Regions from separate parts of the Homo sapiens genome. Here all the other regions are linked to region 1. The links are contacts of gene promoters, found by promoter capture Hi-C in human tissues and cell types (Jung and others, 2019). All regions are on one chromosome and are shown on one strand. The core of a region is centred on a gene start or on the middle of the fragment in contact, and the rest is flanking DNA. Distances in the headings are between cores, read along the strand shown. Region 1 holds the start of MADD (MAP kinase activating death domain). Region 2 overlaps CKAP5 (cytoskeleton associated protein 5). Region 3 overlaps LRP4 (LDL receptor related protein 4).

Region 1 (2,733 bases), core at 60-2,559:
CATTAAAAGAGAGTCAAAGGGTTGCGAGTTTTGTGGCTACTGAGCAGTGGAGCCCTCGCTAACACTGTGCTGTGTCTGAAGATCATGCTGACCCCACAAACGGATGGGCCTGGGGGCCACTTTGCACAGGGTTCTCCAGAGCCCTGCCCATCCTGCCTCCACCACTTCCTGTTTTTCCCACAGGGCCCCAAGAAAAATTCTCCACTGTCACTCTGTGGTATGGCCATAAATGCCTCAGCGCCGCCTCACTGATAGGTCTGGTACTGTTTGAACAGGAAGATCAAAATGAATACAAAATGAGAGAAACCAATTTCTGGATTGGGGGTGGGGACACGGTAATAGAGGAGGAAGCCTGCGATCTTTAGGATCCGCCTCCAGGCCCAGAGGAGGGAGAGTCACAAATGACAGCCTTGGCCGTGAGAGGGGGCCTCTTCTTACTAACCCCCACTGCGCCATATGGGTAAATGGAATGCTGAGGCTTAGGCGCCCCCTTCCCCTGCTGGGATCCGGGTAGGATCCGGTTGCCTTTCTGCGGTGGAGGAGGAAGTGTTGGATTTCAGCGCTAAGGCGTCGGCGGTGCACCTCACGTGCATGTGTAGCATGCCTTGGTTTTTCCTTTGGCATCTGAAAAAGGCACAACCTGAAAGACCTAGAACCCAGTGTCGGTCCCCAGGCCCTTTGGGACAGGAAGAGAAGAGCCGTGTGGCCGCGGGGAGGATGTCCTGAGGCGGGGCTGTCCTCGCGGACTGACTGGACTCCATCTCCCAGCGGGCGCCGCGGCGCGGCCACGCCCCCCCACTCCCCGCGCGCGCCCGGTGGAGGTAACCGCGGCCGCGCGCCCCCCTCTGCCCCCGCTGCCCAGGATTGGTAGGCTCCACCGCTCGGCAGCCGGCTTCCCTGCTCGGACGCCGAGCACCGCCAAAGCGCGTGAGTGGGGGGTGGGGACTGGGGGATGGGGAGCCCGTCAGGAAGTCTCAGGGGCCGATTATCTTGGGAAGTGACTTTCAGAGGAATCCCCATGTCGTCGAAACGGGCGCTATGACCCCGTCGGGTGAGAGTCTCTCTGAGCAACCCAAACAGAAGGTACTGCTGTGGGTCCCCCACTTGGCACGCGACGGCGCTGGGTCGGCCTGGCGCGCCCTCCCGCGCCCACGGGCGCTAGGCTAGGTCTGTGCGCAGCCGCTGTCTCCCGAGGTCGGCCCCGCCCCGCGGCGCTCGGCTCGGTGCAGCCCCGGCCCCCCGGGCTGAATGGTACGGCCCCGGCCCCGGCCTCCCCCTCCGCACCCCGCGCGAGTGGTGCGTGCCCCCCAGTGCAGACGCGGAACTGGCGCCCGCTCGGAGCGGCGCCGCGCTGGGGAGCGACTGACGCCCCGCTGCCGGGGGACGTCGGGCTGGGCCTGGCCAGTCCCCCAGAGCTTGGGAGGTAGGAGAGTCTGGGCCGGTGGGGTCCTGGGCGAGCGTCTGGGGACTCCGAGCGGGAGACGGGCTCTGAGAGGACACCGTGGCTCTTGGAGGAAGGGGTCTCTCAGGAGGCCCTGGGGGAGTGTGAAGGGGCGTGGGGACGGGGGTCTGCCGAGGAGGGGCGGGGACGGGGATGGGGGCGCCCCGGGCAGAGGAGGGGGCTCAGGCTACTGGGCTTGGTTCCTGCCGAGCGGGCGGCTCGGGTTCAGGTTCGGGGCGGGGGCGGGGGCGGGGGAGAACTGTCCAGCAGGTGAGGGGGCGGGCAGAGCTGGCCAGCCCTGGGGCCGAACCCGCACAGCGCTTGGCGGGTGTGCTTGTGCGTGTGCGTGCTTGCGCCTTATTTTTGGCTAGAATTTGGAGAAACACGTTTGGTTCTCAAGAAATTTTTTTTTTAACTTGATATTTCAAAATTGACTTGCTGGAGAGAGAACACCATTTCATCTTTCTGCAATCGCTCTCCTCCCCATCCTCGTGTATCTACCTTCTTCCACCTTTCCCTGCCCTCCCCTCTACCCCAACCCTGCCAGCTGCCAGCCTCCTTGCTCCAGTTCTCCCATACGCTGGACCAGTCTGTGCTGATGAGCTTGCAAGGTCACTGCCTGGGGAGGTAGAGGAGGGGAGGAGAGCCTCCTGTTGTGTTCACGTCAGCAGAGATGTCATATCGCTCTCTGGTTCCTGTGGTTTTACTGTGAGATCCTGTCCAAAATGAGGGACGAATCCAAAGGGTTGGTTAGCATGGCTATTTCTGCTGAAAAGGCATAGATAACTTAAAAGTTTGTGAATCCTAAATCTACCTCTGGGTGGAGCTGATGGTGATGTCGGACTTCAGCAGATAGATATGCATTTTGAGCTGGATGCTTTTGGAATACAGGAAGATAGGAACCAGAGGCTCTACGTTAGTAAACATGGTTGAGGCAAGAGGCAGAGTCGGAGCCTCGTTGGTTGTGAAGACAAGAGTGTGAGTTGTGGGTGATGTTAGAGGATTTAGTCTTTAGAGGAGTTAAAGGTGTTAGTCTTTTTGGGGAGGGGAGAGAGGAGAGAATGAGAAGGAAAATCTTAGTTATCTTTGCAATCTGAATAACTGAAGGCAGTGGCTGCTGATCAGATGTGAACTCTGGCTAAAAATTTATCCTACCACCCGTAGCTAGAATAATAACAAGATCTCAGGGTCCTTGTGGCTCTGGAAGGAAATGATTGTGAGTGACTTGAGTTTCGTCAGATAGTTGTCAGTGGAGAGGGACTGAGATCCCACCAAGGCTAGAGAGGCCTGAT
Region 2 (2,733 bases), core at 76-2,575, 440 kb before region 1:
GGGCGGATCACGAGGTCAGGAGATCGAGACCATCCTGGCTAACAGGATGAAACCATGTATCTACTAAAAATACAAAAAAATTAGCCGGGCATGGTGGCGGGTGCCTGTAGTCCCAGCTACTCGGGAGGCTGAGGCAGGAGAATGGCGTGAATCTGGGAGGCGGAGCTTGCAGTGAGCCGAGATCGCGTCACTGCACTCCAGGCTGGGCAACAAAGTGAGAATCAGTCTCAAAAAAGAAAAAAATTGTTAACCATGACTTCTGAGAGTGTGTCTAAGGGTTAAGCAAAGAAATTTTTTTGAAAAAACTTTTACTTTGAACTTTAATACCCATCCATGCCTTCTGATTTTTAATAATGAGCTTCAGCATCTTTTATAATAATGTTTTTGTATTTTTTATATTATTAAATTTTTTTCATTTACTTTTTCTTTATTTAACTCCCGCTTAGATGATAAATAATGCTTTTAAAAGCTTTAAAACTTTAAAATTCCCACTTAGAGGCTTGAAGTTGGATCATCTGCCTATACTCATCCCATAGGCTACACTTCACTCTCTCTCTTAACATTTTTTGTATACATGATATCTCCTTTGAAAGAAGGAACTGAGTCTTATTCATTATCCCAGCATTGCATAGTGCTTTGTGCTCTAGTGTAAAATTTCTAAAATGGCACCATTTCATCAAGTCACAGAAGTCTTTCTGTTTTTTGTTTTTTGAGACAGGGTATTGCTCCATTGCCCAGGCTGGAGTATGGTGGTGCAATAACTGCTCACTCTAGTCTCATCCTCCCAGCCTCATGTGAGCCTCCTGCCTCAGCCTCCTGAGTAGCTAGGACTACTGGGGCATGCACCACCACATCTGTCTAATTTTTAAATTTTTTTGTAGAGACAGGGTCTCACTATGTGGCCCAGGCTGGTCTCGAACTCCCAGGCTCAAGCAGTCCTCCTGCCTCAGCCTCCCAAAGAGTTGATATTACACTTGCGAGCCACCCCACCCAGTCAGAAGTCTTAAATATACAATAAACTTATCCTTTTTTTTTTTTTTTTTTTCTGAGACAGGGTCTTGCTTTGTTACTGAGGCTGGCGTGCAGTAGCAGGAACATGGCTCACTGCAGCCTCGACTTCCGGGGCTCTGGCAAAACTTCTGCCTCAGCATCTCATGTGGCTGGGACCACAGGTGTTTGCCACCATGCCCAACTTTTTTACTTTTTGTAGAGATGGGGTCTCACCACTTGCCCAGGCTGGTTTTGAACTCCTGGACTCAAGTGAACTGCCTGCCTCAGCCTCCCAAAGTGCTGGGATTACAGGCATGAACCACTGCGCCTGGTCTTATAAAGAAAATTTTGTAGAATGTGTATTTCAAATGTGTTGAGAAAACAATATATATTTAATAAAATTCTGAAGTAAACCCTTTTCAAAGTGAAAAAAATCACTCAGTAATATTATTTTGAAATTTTCTAAGATTTTTGCCACTATTTTCCTAGTTAGTTACTTTTTTATTATAAGATCCACTAAAAGAGGGTAATTTCATTTTTAGAATCTTTCACTTTGGCAAAGCCATGGCAGTAAAACAGTTGCTTGAAAGAAATCTTACTGTAGAAAGCTCTACTCTAGATTAAATTTAGTGCAAACCTGGAGTCATGTTGAGCTCTGGAGGTAGACAGATTGAGTTGTAAACCTTGCTCTGCCACAAACCAGCTGATCCTCAGTTTTATCAATCATCATAACAATACCATCTTCATGTTGCTCCCTATTTAACACACACTTCTTGAACACGTATTATGTGCCAGGCACTATCCTAAGCACTTCACATGTATTTACTCATTTAATCCTTAAAACCTTGAAGTTGATATTATTATCCCTATTTAATAATGAGGCAATTGAGGCAAACAGAGTAACTTGCCTAACATGACTCATCTAATCATTGTTGTAAAGATTAAATGAGATTTTGCCTTTTACATGTTAAGAATTCCCTCCATAGCCAGGTGTAGTGGCATGCGCCTGTAGTCTCAGTTACTCAAGAGGCTGAGGTGGGAGGACTGCTTGAACCCAGGAGGTTGAAACTATAGTAAGCCATGATTGAGCCACTGCACTGTGGCCTGGGTGACACAGCAAGAGTTTATCTCAAAAAAAAAAAAATTTTTTTTCCCACAAATATTCACATTATTCTCCTGTCCTGACAACTGTGCTTGTCAGATAGTGTGAGGCTATTCGGTGTTAGATGCTCATCTAGATGCTGAGTATAGGCTGTGCACCACAATAGCCCTGAGGCAAAGTACAATAAGAGAGTATGACGGAGGAATCTAATCTAGACTGGGGCAGCGGGGTTCAGGGAAGGTCTCCCTGTGAAAGTGATACTCAGGCTGAAAACTAAATGAAATTAATAGGGGTTATCCAAGCAAAGGCAAAAAGTAGGGACAACAGAGAATGTTTCAGGCATGTGTGTGGATCTCTAAAAGATGCAGGCAAGAGTAAAGAACAAAAATATGACCCATGTGACCAAATAAGAGAAAGGCTGATTGGAAAGGGTCAAATTAAACAAATCCAGTGGATTTTATGCAAGTAAGTAGTAGTATTAACAGATTTCATGGCAAACACCAAGCACTCAGTAAACCACAGCTATCATTACTATATTATTGTTATTATTATTAATTTTTTTTTTGTTTTGAGACGGAGTCTGGCTCTGTCGCCCAGGCTGGAGTGCACTGGCGGATCTCGGCTCACTGCAAGCTCTGCCT
Region 3 (2,733 bases), core at 92-2,591, 400 kb before region 1:
CAGCCCTCATGAAGCAGCTTCTCTATAATCTCTATAGTCAGGGCCTAGGAACCTGCATTTTAACAAGCACCATATCGGATTCTGTATACCACTCTTTGAGAGCCACTCCTTTGAATGCTAGAACATGGGAATGGCAGGATAAGAGTAGCAAGGCACTCGGTGGCCCTACCAACCTACCAAGGCTTCAGGGCACAGGAAAAATCCCTAAAATGAGCTGCAATAGCACGTCTGTTCAGTAGCAGCTATAGCTGAGACTGCTGACTTAGAACCCCAAAGAAACATCCCAGTCAAGGAGGTTTAGTTACCTCTCTCCTGAGCCAGTACCTGTGTGAGGGCAAAGGGGTGGGACACATGGCTGACCAAGACCTGCCGCAGTTTCCCATTGAGGTCAGCACTCTCGATCCGGTCCAGATGCGCATCCACCCAGTAGATCCTGCGAAGAAAATGAAAAGAGTGGCTGCTCCAAACGCTTGCCAGGGAGCCCAGCTCTTCCCCCTATGAACCTGTTTGTCCCCTCCTGAGCTGACTGGCAGATGCTATGAGAACTCAAGAAGCACCCTCGATGAGGGGTCATTGTGAGTCCCAAAGCTGAAGAAGGGAGCTGGTGGTTCATGAGTGGGGAGGTCAGGGCTGCTCTGGGGAGGCATAGAAAGTCTAGTGACCTCAGAGGAACCACCACCCAGCCTCATCTTCAGGAATTTGATTGCCCTTTGACTCCTACCCAATAATCAAAGCCCAATTTCTTACAAATGGTCTTTAAGAAGAGAGCTCACTCGGCCGGGCATGGTGGCTCACGCTTGTAATCCCAGCACTTTGGGAGGCCGAGGCGGGGGATCACTTGAGGTCAGGAGTTCGAGATCAGCCTGGCCAACATGGTGAAACCCCGTCTCTGCTAAAATACAAAAATTAGCCAGGCGTGGTGACACGTGCCTGTAATCCTAGCTACTTGGGAGGCTGCGGCACGAGAATGGCTTAAACCCAGGAGGCGGAGGTTGCAGTGAGCCGAGATCGTGCGACTGCACTCCAGCCTGGGCAAAAGAGTTAGACTCTGTCTCAACAACAACAACAAAAAAGGAAGTGAGCCCAGTCTACATGGACCTTGCTGAGGTTAAAAGAAGAAGGCATTCTACCACCTTTCCAGAAGTCTTGGATTCCCTTCCCCTTCTTTTGGATCAGAAGGGGGCACAGACTGCTTTAGAGCCCCTTCCCCCTGCCCTTAGCATTTCTTATCTAGACAAGGAGTTGTACATTCCGGAGCCTGGGTCGGGCGTGGTGGCTCATGCCTGAAATCCCAGCACTTTGGGAAGCCAAGGCAGTAGGATTGCTTGAGTCCAGGAGTTCGAGACCAGCCTGGGCAACATAGCGAGATGCTGTCTCTACAAAAAATTTAGAAATTAGCTGGGCATGGTGGCATGTGCCTATAGTCCCTGCTACTTGAGAGGCTGAGGTAAGAAGATGGCTTGAGCCAGGGAGGTTCAGGCTGCAGAGAGCTGTGACTGCGCCACTGCACTCCAGCCTGGGCAACAGAGCAAGATGCTGTCTCAACAACAACAAAGTTCCAGAGCCTGAAGGGATCAGGATTTGTTATATTATAACAAATATAAGAATCAGCCCTTAAATGAGTAGGGGTGTGAGACCTGTGGTCCAGCCAGAAGACATGCTCTGCCAAAGGCACTCAAATTAGGAACATGTAAACCAGCCAAACAAAACCCACATAAGGGTTGAGGGCTGGATTTAGCAATCGCTGCTCTAAGAATATATTCCCTTATCCTTCTCAATGATTCCTCTTCCCCACATACCAAGAAGCTTTCTATCTTTTCATTTTTCCAAGGTTAATCTCAACCATTCTCTCTTCTGCCCACCCGATTTCCAGGAGGCTGTTTGATGCAAGACTCCCACCTGCGGGTATCATAGTCCAGGGTAAGGCCATTGGGCCAACCCAGGTCTGTGTTGATGAGGACCTTCCGCTCAGAACCATCCAAGTTTGCCCGTTCGATCTTGGCAATGTGGCCCCAGTCTGTCCAGAAGAGGTACCTGAGACACAACAGTGCCATCATCATCAAGGCATGGGAAGACAGCACCCAGAGGTTGAGAGAACACAGAGGACCCACTAACACCATCTTTCCACCCAGCCCTTCTTCCCTGGATCTCTCTTCTGCTGGCCATAAACTTACCCCTTCCTGGGGAAAACAGCAATGGCCCGGGGCTCATCCAGGCTATTGTTGATCAGTACTTTGCGGCAGGAACCATCCAGCCTGGACGCCTCAATGGTATTTCGACCTGTGTCTGTCCAGTACAGGTTCCTGGCCACCCAGTCCACTGCCAGCCCGTCAGTGGTCTTCAGCCCTCGCCCGATCACTGTCTCCATGTTGCTGCCGTTCAGGTCTGCTCGCCTTGGGGAGAGCCCAGTGTTGGATGAGCAACCAGACTGACCCAGAATAGAGTAGAACTTTAACCCATGTTCCCATAACTGGACCCCACTGAACTGTAAGCTCCACAGGGATAGAGACCAGGTATCTATGAGTACATTCCTCAGCACCCAGCATGATAGATGTTCAATAAAATAATTGCAGAATGAAGGAACCAGTTCTTAGGAGGACACAGTATTTCCTGCTAACTGGACATAGTGGCGGTTGCCAGGGGATGTCTTGCTAGAAGACAAGTTTATCATTCCCCACATACCTTTGGGAAGAGACAAGGATTGCTAGGTGGTGATGATAAGAAACGCAGATT

Evidence for each region. Contacts are between HindIII fragments. The study calls those that stand out against the background at their distance.
Region 2: a fragment that was not itself captured here is called in contact with the fragment with the promoter of MADD in region 1 in 2 of the 25 tissues and cell types used here (IMR-90 fibroblasts and dorsolateral prefrontal cortex).
Region 3: a contact is called between a fragment that was not itself captured here and the fragment with the promoter of MADD in region 1, in 1 of the 25 tissues and cell types used here (lymphoblastoid cells).

The regions. Positions count from the first base shown.
Region 1 is chr11:47,268,824-47,271,556 of GRCh38, forward strand. It overlaps MADD (MAP kinase activating death domain), which reads left to right and starts at 1,310. Exons shown (of 37, transcript NM_001376571.1): 1 at 1,310-1,423. NR1H3 (nuclear receptor subfamily 1 group H member 3) reads left to right here. Exons shown (of 10, transcript NM_005693.4): 10 at 1-210. MADD-AS1 (MADD antisense RNA 1) reads right to left here. Exons shown (of 3, transcript NR_120569.1): 2 at 2,256-2,318; 3 at 1,834-2,157. RefSeq lists enhancers at 492-601, 1,075-1,369 and silencers at 752-861, 1,072-1,601. The HindIII fragment of the contact is 15,703 bases long and covers 1-2,733 here.
Region 2 is chr11:46,830,836-46,833,568 of GRCh38, forward strand. The region is part of intron 1 of CKAP5 (cytoskeleton associated protein 5); the gene reads right to left. Among named protein-coding and RNA genes, the nearest start is that of CKAP5, 14 kb to the right of the region's middle. The HindIII fragment of the contact is 9,291 bases long and covers 1-2,733 here.
Region 3 is chr11:46,871,201-46,873,933 of GRCh38, forward strand. LRP4 (LDL receptor related protein 4) reads right to left here. Exons shown (of 38, transcript NM_002334.4): 29 at 2,175-2,393; 30 at 1,900-2,034; 31 at 325-433. It overlaps LRP4-AS1 (LRP4 antisense RNA 1), which reads left to right. Exons shown (of 3, transcript NR_038909.1): 3 at 1,874-2,733. Among named protein-coding and RNA genes, the nearest start is that of LRP4-AS1, 26 kb to the left of the region's middle. The HindIII fragment of the contact is 4,299 bases long and covers 1-2,733 here.